Linked DNA regions of Homo sapiens: all the other regions are linked to region 2. Evidence: promoter capture Hi-C in 16 types of primary human blood cells and fetal thymus (Javierre and others, 2016). All regions are on one chromosome and are shown on one strand. The core of a region is centred on a gene start or on the middle of the fragment in contact, and the rest is flanking DNA. Distances in the headings are between cores, read along the strand shown.

Evidence for each region. Contacts are between HindIII fragments. The CHiCAGO score rates a contact against its expected background, and 5 or more counts as called.
Region 1: the fragment with the promoter of SMIM13 here is called in contact with the fragment with the promoter of SLC35B3 in region 2 in 2 of 17 cell types (non-activated CD4 T cells and activated CD4 T cells); the score reaches 6.9 in non-activated CD4 T cells.
Region 3: the fragment with the promoter of MAK here is called in contact with the fragment with the promoter of SLC35B3 in region 2 in 2 of 17 cell types (activated CD4 T cells and naive CD4 T cells); the score reaches 6.3 in activated CD4 T cells.

Annotation. Positions count from the first base shown.
Region 1 is chr6:11,091,553-11,095,352 of GRCh38, reverse strand. It overlaps SMIM13 (small integral membrane protein 13), which reads right to left and starts at 1,519. Exons shown (of 2, transcript NM_001135575.2): 1 at 964-1,519. The coding sequence starts at 1,039. RefSeq lists enhancers at 830-949, 830-1,371, 1,620-1,829, 1,372-1,912 and a silencer at 1,050-1,359. The HindIII fragment of the contact is 2,504 bases long and covers 1-2,156 here.
Region 2 is chr6:8,433,706-8,437,193 of GRCh38, reverse strand. SLC35B3 (solute carrier family 35 member B3) reads left to right here and starts at 1,649. Exons shown (of 10, transcript NM_001370479.2): 1 at 1,649-1,851. LOC100506207 (a long non-coding RNA gene) reads right to left here and starts at 1,571. Exons shown (of 5, transcript NR_038980.1): 1 at 1,016-1,571. RefSeq lists enhancers at 1,252-1,341, 1,422-1,501, 1,442-1,611, 1,812-1,871, 1,368-1,909 and 1 more. The HindIII fragment of the contact is 10,856 bases long and covers 1,005-3,488 here.
Region 3 is chr6:10,837,254-10,840,724 of GRCh38, reverse strand. It overlaps MAK (male germ cell associated kinase), which reads left to right and starts at 2,186. Exons shown (of 15, transcript NM_001242957.3): 1 at 2,186-2,222. RefSeq lists enhancers at 1,504-1,663, 1,714-1,773 and a silencer at 1,994-2,123. The HindIII fragment of the contact is 3,144 bases long and covers 210-3,353 here.

The DNA of each region.
Region 1 (3,800 bases), core at 270-2,769, 2.7 Mb before region 2:
ATAAAATAAACATATAAGTTTATAAATACATACACATGCATATGCACAAGTGCACACATATATTCCACAGCGTCACTAAGTATTAATTTGTACATTTATCGTGTAATGAACAAGCCCTATAGTATCTGTATGAATTCTGACCCATTATTACATCAACCTGAACCCATACTTCAGTCTTATAAATATGTGTAAACTCACTGACACGTGTTCTACGTACTTTTTAGATTTTCACAATTGCTTAGCCACTTTGCTAAGAGACCTGTGGTTATCAGCTACTATACATGTACAAAGAAATCAAAAAGATCTAAAATTGGGCTACCATTATTTGAAGAAAAAAGTTGAACGTCCTCTCATTCCAAGAAGGAAAATACGCACAGCATTCGAAATAGCACCATTATTATAGAACTGAGAGTTAGGTTACCCGACCCTGCAAGTTTAATATAGCCGGTGTTTCTAAGCTCTGCCTGGTCTCCACATCTCTGCTTGGAATTGAGTTTAAGGCTGAACTCTAAGTAAACAATTTCACGCGTGCTGAAAACCCAACTCTACCCCACTCGCTGATGAAACGAAGGTGACACCTCTCATTATTAAGGTCAGAATCTGTGCAAATGAAAAAGGACCAATCAATCACTTCACCTTCGAATGCAGGCCAAGGTTACAATCTGGGCAGCCTGTGGTGAGAATGAAAGAGCAGACGCTGCCGGTGAAGCAAGGCTGAGTTTCACTCAGAGGCAGGAAGCCCTGGAGCCTGTCCTTTCCCTCCCCAGGATGCCCGAGGGCCGGCCATGAGTAAAGGGCCCACCTCTGCGCTCAGCCCTAGAGGCTAAGGGACAACAGTTGATTTTAAGACAATTGTCCGTCCACGCCCTTTTGTTTTTTTCAAAAAAACAAACAACAAAAAAAACCCCAGCAGATCAGCGACCCGGCGTGTGGAACTGCCTCGCGGCTACCGCCCCCACTCACCGCACACCATCAGCAGCAGGACGATCAGCAGCGTGGCCACGAACACAAGCAGAGTCAGCCCGACGCTGTGCCACATCTTGGGGGCAGAAGGGCAGTCGGCTCGGGGCGGCTGGCGCGGACGGCGGTGAGCGCGGGCGGCGGCGCGTCCTGCGCTTCAGCGGCGGGCGCCAGGCGCGGCTGGGCGCCGGGGCGGCATGGGCGGCTGGCGCCCCCTCGGCAGCGCCCCCAGGGGGTGGGGCGGCGCAAAGGCGGGCACTGTGGGACCGCCCGCCCGCCCGATCCTTTTCCCGCCGGGGTGGCCAGAGCGCGGGAGGCAGGCGGGCCTCAGGGCGCCTCTAGTCCCTCATCGCCCCGGAGAGCCGAGGCCGCGGCACCCAGAGACCCCAGCGGTCGGATGCGCTTCCATGGCGGACGCCGCGCGCCTGTAGGGAGGACAGAGGGTAAGCACGGGTACACACGGCGGCCACAAGGCCCTCGTCGCTGTCCACCCGTGTCTCTGAGACCCCAGGGATGCCAGATGTCAGCGTCGCCCGGCCGCGGCTGTAGCGGCTTCTCCGCCCCAGGCCCCCTACCGCTGGGGCAGCTCATCACCAAGCTCGCCTCCTCCGCGGCGCGGGGTCGGCTGGGAGATGGAGTGCAGAGCCTGGTGGAGTCGGGACGGCGTTGTCTCGCAGGGACTACAACTCCCAGAATGCACCGCCACTCGGGCTTCGCTGCTTTCATTCTCGGGCGGCTCTGCCTTTGGTCTTGCTCAAGTCGCCTCAGTCGGACGACCGTGGGCTGGCCTTCTCCAAAGCCGCGGATCTGGCTGCCCGTCCTGCTGAGGCGCCAGTGAGATTTCAACCATTACTCCGTATACAAAGTCGTTTTGTTTCTAGCCGTAATCGATGAAGTACGGCGAGAGAGGAAAGAGGAGGCGGCTGCCTGAAAAACTGGTTGCTCGTGCACCTAGCCCTGTTGCCGGGGGCGAAGGTTGGCTATTTGGGACTTGGAGGAAGAACTCAGGTCCCTGCCGCAGACGCGGGTCAGGACACGAAATCTCATTTTCCCCCTGCAACAGATGTTATGTTCTATCTTTTCGTAAGTAAAGCATTTCAGAAATGGCCCGCGGGTGACTTAAGGACAGCTGCACTGCCCTCAAATCACCTGCCTGAGTTGTAAGTTAGACCCAGCTGCCTCCTTGAGACCAAGCTTGGAGATTTTGCCGCACTGGCTTACACCTCTACGAAACAAGACACTGTAGTAATCTCAACTACTGTATCTCCACCCAAAATTGAAACTCCCCACTTCCGCCAGATTACATTCATTTGTTAAAGAGGTGCCCCCAGAAGAATAGAGGGTAAATGTGTCCCTCTTTTAGAAGGAATCAGAGCCTTCGAGTTTTCCTGTGATTCTTTTGCTCCCTGAGATACCTTTTTACTCTTCTAAAAATTACAGTTTCCTGTCTTCTGTCTCCAAAAACAAACACAAAAGTTCTAAGCAGCAATCCCTTGATTTAATAAATGTATCCTGCCATACCCAGCTGCCCTACTATGTGAACTGTATTCCCTAAGAAGCAACATTAGGAACAAATACCATGTATAAAAATACATTAAAGGATAATTACTTGCTTTGCAACAGATTTAATATAGATTCCTGTGAAGAGAATGAACCCAGTGCAATTAAGATATATTTACAAAAAATCAGTGTGTGCTTTTTTCATGGGTGGTTCAATTATGTTGCATAATTAAAACACATTTTATTAAAAGCCAGTTGAAAATACGCGTCAGGGCTAGGCGAGGTGGCTCACGCCTGTAATCCCAGCACTTTGGGAGGCTAAGGCGAGCAGATCACCTGAAGTCAGGAGTTCGAGACCAGCCTGGCCAACATGGTGAAACCCTGTCTCTACTAAAAATACAAAAATTAGCCGGGGGTAGTGGTGGGCGCCTGTAATTCCAGCTACTCAGGAGGCTGAGGCAGGAGAATCGCTTGAACCCAGGAGGCCAAGGTTGCAGTGTGCCGAGATCACACCACTGCACTCCAGCTTGGGCAACAGAGAGACTCTTATCAAAAAAAAAAAAAAAAAGAAAAGAAAAGAAAACAGCCATCGGAAGAACTAAAATAATTTATTTTAAAGGACCTTTTTCTCTTTGATTCACATATATTGGAATACCTATAGGGGCCAGGCACTGTTCTAAGTGCTGGGGATACAGCAGTGAATAAGACAAAGTGCCTTTACTCAAGATGCTTATATGACAGTTGGAAAAAAACAGACAATAAGCATAAATAGAGAAATCTCAGGAACTGCTATTAATAGCAAGACAGTGTGATAAATGTAGGTGTGTTATTTTAGCTTGTTGGGGGATCAGGGAAGGTCTTCCTGAGGAAGTAACATTTAATCTGAGTCCTGAATGACAACAAGGATTCATGGAAAGACCTAGAGAAGAACATACCAGGTAAAGGGAACAGCTAGTGCAAAACCCACAAGAAGGAAATAAACCTGGCCATTGCTCTAAGCCTTTTCAATGTTTCTCAACTCTGGATGCACATTTCAAATCACGTAGGGAGATTTATAAATTACGAATGGCTAGACCTCATCCCCATACCAAATGAACAGAATCTCTGGGAGTAGGGCCTAAGCATGGTTGTTTTTTATTTTTGTTTTTGAGACAGTCTCATCCTGTCTGCCACAGCTGGCCGGATGCAGTGGCTCACACCTGTAATCCCAGCACTTTCGGGGCTGAGGTGGACAGATCACCTGAGGTCAGGAGTTCAAGACCAGCCTGGCCAACATGGTGAAACCTCGTCTCTACTAAAAGTACAAAAATTAGCTGGGCGTGCTGGCAGATGCCTGTAAT
Region 2 (3,488 bases), core at 400-2,899:
CCATGCAGAAGGAACAACAGCTACAAAGCACTGATGCTTGCTGTGCTTGGGGGCAATTAGAAAAGCTCTGAAGTGTAGCTTGGATGTGATCCATCAAGAATAAGTTCAGTCTTAAAAGTCAGGGTAAGAATTTTGAACTTTAATCTGAGTAAAATGGTAAACCGCTAAAAGGTTCTGCACAGAGGAGTGGCATATTCAGGTTCTAATGGGATCACTCCAGCTGCTGAATGCAACTATGTAGAGAAATAAAGGGAATGCAGAAAGCTATGCTCACGGCTACTGCAATTGTCCAGGCATGAGCAGATGGTACCTTGTAACACCTCTTGTACCTTAAGTTGTTTTATACTGCCATTTACTTTCTCATGGAAACCCCTAATTTCTTCAGGACAGGGAGCTCATACGCATAGTTTACGATATGAGCTATACATATGCCCATTTAATAAATACTTGATAAATAACCACCATATAAATGGCTAACAGTAGTACTAAATTCACATTATACAGTGACGATATGGCATCACTGAAAGGTTTTGTCATTTACTATCTCTTTAGGAAATTTAAGTTCTCTAAGCCTTAATTCCAACATTCCTAAGTGTTGCTAACACCAGCCTAACAACGTTGGCAAGTATTAAACGAAAATGTCTACCCAGACCTTTTTTTCTCACCACCAAAGTAGGTGCCTTGCTTTCTTACAAACCCTCGATCCCAATACAAGACACAAATGCTACCCTTTCTGAAGAGTGCCTGTAAAATTTTAAAAGTTGTCCATAACTGACTGGATTCTAACATACATATTAATCCAATTCATCCCTTTCTGGTATTCAAGGCATGCTTTCAAAAATTGTCCATCTTCGTTACAGTAATATTTTCCTTAATTATTCTCTGAAAACAGCTCATCCCCAAACCGTCTTGGTTTTTACGTTATTACATCTCAGTGGTGATGGATGAGGCCCTAAACGCGGGGAAAACCTTTTACAAAAGTTTTGATGGCTGGTCCTCAAGCTTTGAGATTTACCTTCCAAGAATTAAGCAGCACTATCGAAACAATGCTGGCAACATTTTTATGAGGTTGCAAGGACCACGGTTGCTGCAGCTACAGGATGAGTTATAACGTCAGAAGCAACCCAAGCGTTACTTCAGGCCCATCTTCACCGGAGAAGCCCGTATGAATCAGGCAAAAACATAAAAACAGGTTCTGTGACTTTGCCGTATCTCATTTAGATCAAGTAGCACGCAGAAGGAAGACAAGGATTTTAAAATCTGGCTCCAACATTCTCCACTTGGTCGCGTTCTCAAATCTCAGCCCAGGGCCGCTGACGTAAAGTCGCCTCTCTCGTGGGCACCACGGGCTCGAGGGTAGCCGGCAGCTGAAACCCGAGGGGCTTCAGAGGCTTGGAGGCCAGGAGCAGGCAGAGCGCCGATGGGATAATGAGATTCTCCAGCAGATCGGCGCTCACCGACCTACTCCATTTCAGTGGGTAGAGGTAAAGGCTGAAAGGCGACCCTCGCACCGCCCGGCCCACCTAGGCAGTGCCGGCCTAGCGTCTCTACCCCATAGAGCATGCGCGGGAGGTAACGGCCCGCCCGCCACCGGCCACACAGGCCTGTCGGGAGGCGGGGCCACGCGTCTGCGCACGCGCGCAGGGACACATAGGCGGAAGTGGCCTGCGGGCGCCGGAGTTGAGAGTGCTTTCCGGGGAGGCGACCGCCGCGGTGGAAAGTGCAGGAGTGGGCGAGGAGGAGGAGGAAGAGGAGGTGATGGCGACGGACCAGGGGAGGGGGAGATGCTCCGTCTAGCTCAGACGCCACGCAGGCTGCCGTCACCCTTCCGGGTGACATACCGGCCTTGGGGTACGCGTGCCTTCGGGGCCTTTCCTGTGTTTGGGACCCAGATCTCCTCTCCTCCAGAAAACCTTGACACTGCCCATCTTCCTCATCCAGAAGGAGCGTTCGAGGAATGGATGAGGTCGGGATGGAAGAAACGGGTGATTCCCTTTTTTGAAAGAGCGGAAACCGGCCGGGCGGTTTCCAGGGAGGAGCATCTGTTCCTCCTCGCCCGTTTTTCGCCCTCGGGCTGGCGAGAACTCCCTCAGGTCCCAATCCGTGGACTCGCAGGGGTGAGGTGACCTCAAGGGGTCTTTTACGCTGTTCTCGGGGTCTCTGGAGAACTGTCAGTCACCTGGATACCTCTAGACTGTATTTACAGTTAACTGTTTCCTCGTTCCGTGTTTATTAAATAGGGGCACTCCAAGGTACTCTTTTCTCCATTTGGCTTGCAGTAGAATGTGATTGTTCTGGCTGGGCTATTAAGTTTATGGCATAAACTTCCACTAGAAGTTCTGCAAGTTTCCTCCAGTCTTTGCAACTGAATTATCTCTCCCGTCTTTTTATTATTTAAGGAATATTGAAAGTAAAAGATGGAATGATTTGGTGCGCTAACAAAATCTTAAGTGTTGAGTATCTGCATTTTTTCTACATTAGGATATCAGAAGCCTAGAATTGTTTTTTGATTAAACGTTTTTCTAAGTGAATTGAGATAGTTTGGAACTTGGAAGAGAGGCAGCATTTCAAAATAATTTAGACAGCGTTATTTTTACTTAATTACTTAATATATAAAGTCCTAGTGTTAACTTTTTCTCTTGGAAAAAAAAAAGAATAGTCTTCAAACATTAGCACAGGGTTTCTCCACCTTTGTGTAATGATGTGTGTACAAAGAAATGAGATGGAACTTTGTTTTTTCTGTTTTATAATCGTACACCATAGGCCATGATTGATTCCGGAGCGCAGTTAATCAAGGCATAATGGCATGGTAAGATTCTTTTATTTGTAACGTTGAGTGTGGCAAAGTATAGTTAAAATCACGTTTTTTCAGGTTAATGACACCGTAATGACTTTTTTTTCATATTCTACCTTTTTTTGGTGTGGGACTTTTGTCCTTCAGGTCGGAAAACTCAAAAATAAACTGAAATAATTGTGACTTCAATAGGTCATTGTAACTCAACATTATCACTAATTTTAATTTTTAAATATACATTGTATGCCGGAAATGCTACCTTTTTATTCCATTTTAGCAGTTGAAGTTGAATATCTGTGTTGAATTTAGGAAGAGGCCTCAGGCAATTATACACACCTGTGATTTTTAAAATATATATATATATATTTTAGTTTCACTGATTACTGTGAGCTTCAAAAGCAAAGCACAATGTTGATCATTTAGTCTGAAAACTAATTTTAATTCCATGCTTCATTTTTGCTCCTTGCATCACAAGGAGTTTGGCCCATTTTTTTTTTTAGATGATGGTTAGTATCAGTCATTAATGTTTGAAGTGGAAGGGATATGGCAGACATTCCCCAATGATCACAGTTATTAGGTATCAGAGGTCTTTATCAGTCACACTTTCTCACCAGTGATGTTCTTATTAATAAAACAGCATTCTAAATGCAAGGCTTTGGTGGGCAAGTTTTATGAGACTGATGCCTCAGGCAGA
Region 3 (3,471 bases), core at 937-3,436, 2.4 Mb before region 2:
CCATCATCACTGCTAGAGTTGGATCCTTATCATTTCTTCCCAGTCAGTTGGGAGAAAGACTCCCAATCTTTCTCTTGCCTCCAGACTTGCAGCTCAAATCCACCCTACCCACTGCTCCTCTTGGGATCTTTCTGAAATGCAAATGTGAACATGTCACTCTTCTGTGGGAGATTCTTCACTGGTCTTCCTCATTGACACATGTTAAAGCTTAGGCTTCATAACTGGGTATATAAAGCTGCTATGACCTATCTAACTTATGCTTTTTACTTTGCCTGCCTACTTCACTTATTTATTGGAGAGCAATGAATCTTTTATTTATTATTATTATTATTGAGACGGAGTTTTGCTTTTGCTGCCCAGGCTGGAGTGCAATGGTGTGATCTCAGCTCACTGCAACCTCCGCCTCCTGGGTTCAAGCTATTCTCCTACCTCAGCCTCCCAAGTAGCTGGGATTACAGGCATGCGCCACCACGCCTGGCTAATTTTTTGTAGTTTTAGCATTTTAGTAGAGATGGGGTTTCTCCAGGTTGGTCAGACTGGTCTCAAACTCCCGACCTCAGGTGATCCGCCCACCTCGGCCTCCCAAAGTGCTGGGATTACAGGCATGAGCCACCGCGCCTGGCCATTTATTATTATTATTATTTTGAGACAGAGTCTTGCTCAGTCACCCAGGCTGGAGTGCAGTGGCACGTTCTCCGCTCACTGCAACCTCTGCCTCCTGGGTTCAAGTGATTCTCCTGCCTCAGCCTCCCGAGTAGCTGGGATTACAGGCATGTGCCACCACACCCAGATATTTTTTGTATTTTTAGTAGAGATGGGGTTTCACCATGTTGGCCAGGCTGGTCTTGAACTCCTGACCTCAGGTGAGCCACTCACCTGGGCCTCCCAAAGTGCTGGGATTACAGGCATGAGCCACTGAGCCCCGTCTGTTTTTAAATGTTTATTTCAATAGCTCTTGGGGTACAAGTGGTTTTTTGTTACATAGATGAATTATATAGTGGTGAATTCTGAGATTTTAGTGCACCCATCATCTGAGTAGTGTATATGGTACCTAGTGCATAGTTTTTTTTATCCCTAGGCTCTCTCCCATCCTCCCCTTTCTGAGTCTCCAAAGTCCATTATTTCACTGTGTATGCCTTTGCATACTCATAGCTTGGCTTTTGCTTATAAGTGAGAACATACAGTTTTTGGTTTTCCACGCCTGTATTACTTTGCGTAGAATAAGGACCTCCCACTCTTCCAAGTTGTTGCAAAAGACATTATTTCATTCTTTTTTTGTGACTGAGTAGCAGCCTATGGTGTATATATACCACATTTTCTTTATCCACTCATTAGTCAATGGGCACTTAGATTGGTTCCACATCTTTGCAATTGTGAATTGTGCTGCCATAAACATACGCGTGAAAGCCTACTTCACTTTAAGCTGTGAGGGCCACAGGCATGTCTGTCGTGTCTACCTTGGCGCTATTCTTGGTCCCAAGCCCACATCCTGACACCTAATAATTACTAACTTGCCGCACCACTGCTTCATCACTTATGTTTCTGTTTCGTAGACCCTTTTTGCCAGCCAATCTGAACTATTTGCAGTAACACAAGTGTGCCTTCCTCTCTAAATTCTAGACTAGTTACAATTTACCCATTTATTCACACATTCAGTCATTTTTCTTGGAATTACCACTATCTAACTCTGTGGCTGATACTAGGCAGGTTCTCTGAATGAATAAATGGAAACAAACTTAGAAGGGCAGCTCAAGAGGTAATACATACCCAAGGAATTGACCAATTTAAGGAACTGCATACAAGAACAGTTTTTCCCCAGGCACAAGTAAACAAGTGCAAGTATGAGGCAAACAGACTTCCTTCTCTTGCTCTGCCCGGTCTGGGAACCATATTTTAATTAATCAAGACTTTGTAGAATGAATCGGAACAAAACCAAAACAAAATAAAGGGCAAACAAACCAACTTCTGACAAAGACCTGACTGAAAAGGTAATCAACTCCCCTAAACCCCAAGTCTAAATGGCACACTTGCTGCAGCTCAGCCGACAGTCCCCCGGCTCCATGAAGCCCCGCCCCGGGGAAGGCGGGGCCTGCGGGAATTGGCGGGGATTTCCCGCGAGGCCACGCCCTCTCTGGGCCGGCCGTAGGCCCGCCTGCTGCCCCCGCCGTTTCCTAGGAGATGAAACACACAAGACGCCGGAGCTTCACAAGGGAGCGAACGAGGTAAGCAGCAGGCGCGGACAGGTAATCCCCAGCGGGCTGCAGGGCCACCACCCTCTGTCCGACCCAGCCGGAGCCCGACCTGCGAGGCTGGCCGGGCATGTCCCCTCGGCGCCCTGTGCTACCAGGGCCAATCTCCGCCCGGAGACCGGTCCCTGACGCCGGTAGGGGAAGGACTGGAGGGAGGAGGGTCCCCGGAGGGGCGGAGCGGGCGGGAGTGGTCAGCCCGAGGGAAGGCGGTCGGTGTCTCCCAGACCTCTTGACCACTTTCCCGCCTCCTGGACCGCGGGGGCCGGCCTGGCGTGGGAGGATGACGGCCGGGCGTCCCTTAGCCTGAGACCCCCGCCCCTAAACTCTCCTCCGGGATCTCCCACCTCTGCTCCCCTGCTGCTTGGGCTGGCGGTGGAAACTGTTTTTAGGACAGAGAGGCAGGATTGGGTCTCAGGGAGGCAGCGGAACTGAGTTCAGAACTGTTGCAAAATCTAAAAGGAGGGAGAAAAACAGGAATTAGGTCCGACTCCAGCCCTCGCTGGTGCATCCCAAAGGACGCTCAGGTGAAAGTGGAATTCCGCACACCCCCGTCCCCCCCAACGGCGCCGGACTCCCGGCGCCCGGGGACGCCCCCTCCTTCCACCACGCGGTCCCTGGAGCCTTTTAAGAGCCCTGGTTTGCAGAGTCGGATCAGAAAGTGTGTGACGAAAACTGTCCCTTTTCTGCAAGTAATCCGTTTTAATTTAGGGACAGGTCGAGAGTGCGGTGTCGAGAGCAATAAAACTGGTTTTTAGTGGTTAGTAATCTCAATCCTACAAGGAAAGAGCTGTATGCAAATGTGGTTAGATAATCGTTTAAAAGAAACAGACATTTGTTCTAATGATAACGGAATTCTCAAAGAGGGAAGCCAAAGTTATCTGACTTTATTTATTCAGAAACACAACCCATTAAGTGAAATAATGGTGAAAACAAAAGTGACTTTCCAGCTTTTCGATCGGGCCCCGCCTCCCCGGCCCTTCAATTCCCGAGGCTTGACCGGGAGGGAGAAAGTTCCCCCAACCGCGCCACCGCCTGCTTCCACTGCAGGCACCGGGCAGGACGTTTAATCTCTTCGTCGGGGTGGACTTTTTTTGTGTATAAGCTTTGAAATAATTTGTGAATATGAGCACAGAGAACTGTGCTTTTATATTTTAAGATACAGTCTTTGTTTTCCCATTGTAATAGCTCATTTAATTTCTGTAAAACTTCGACTTGGTTAGTT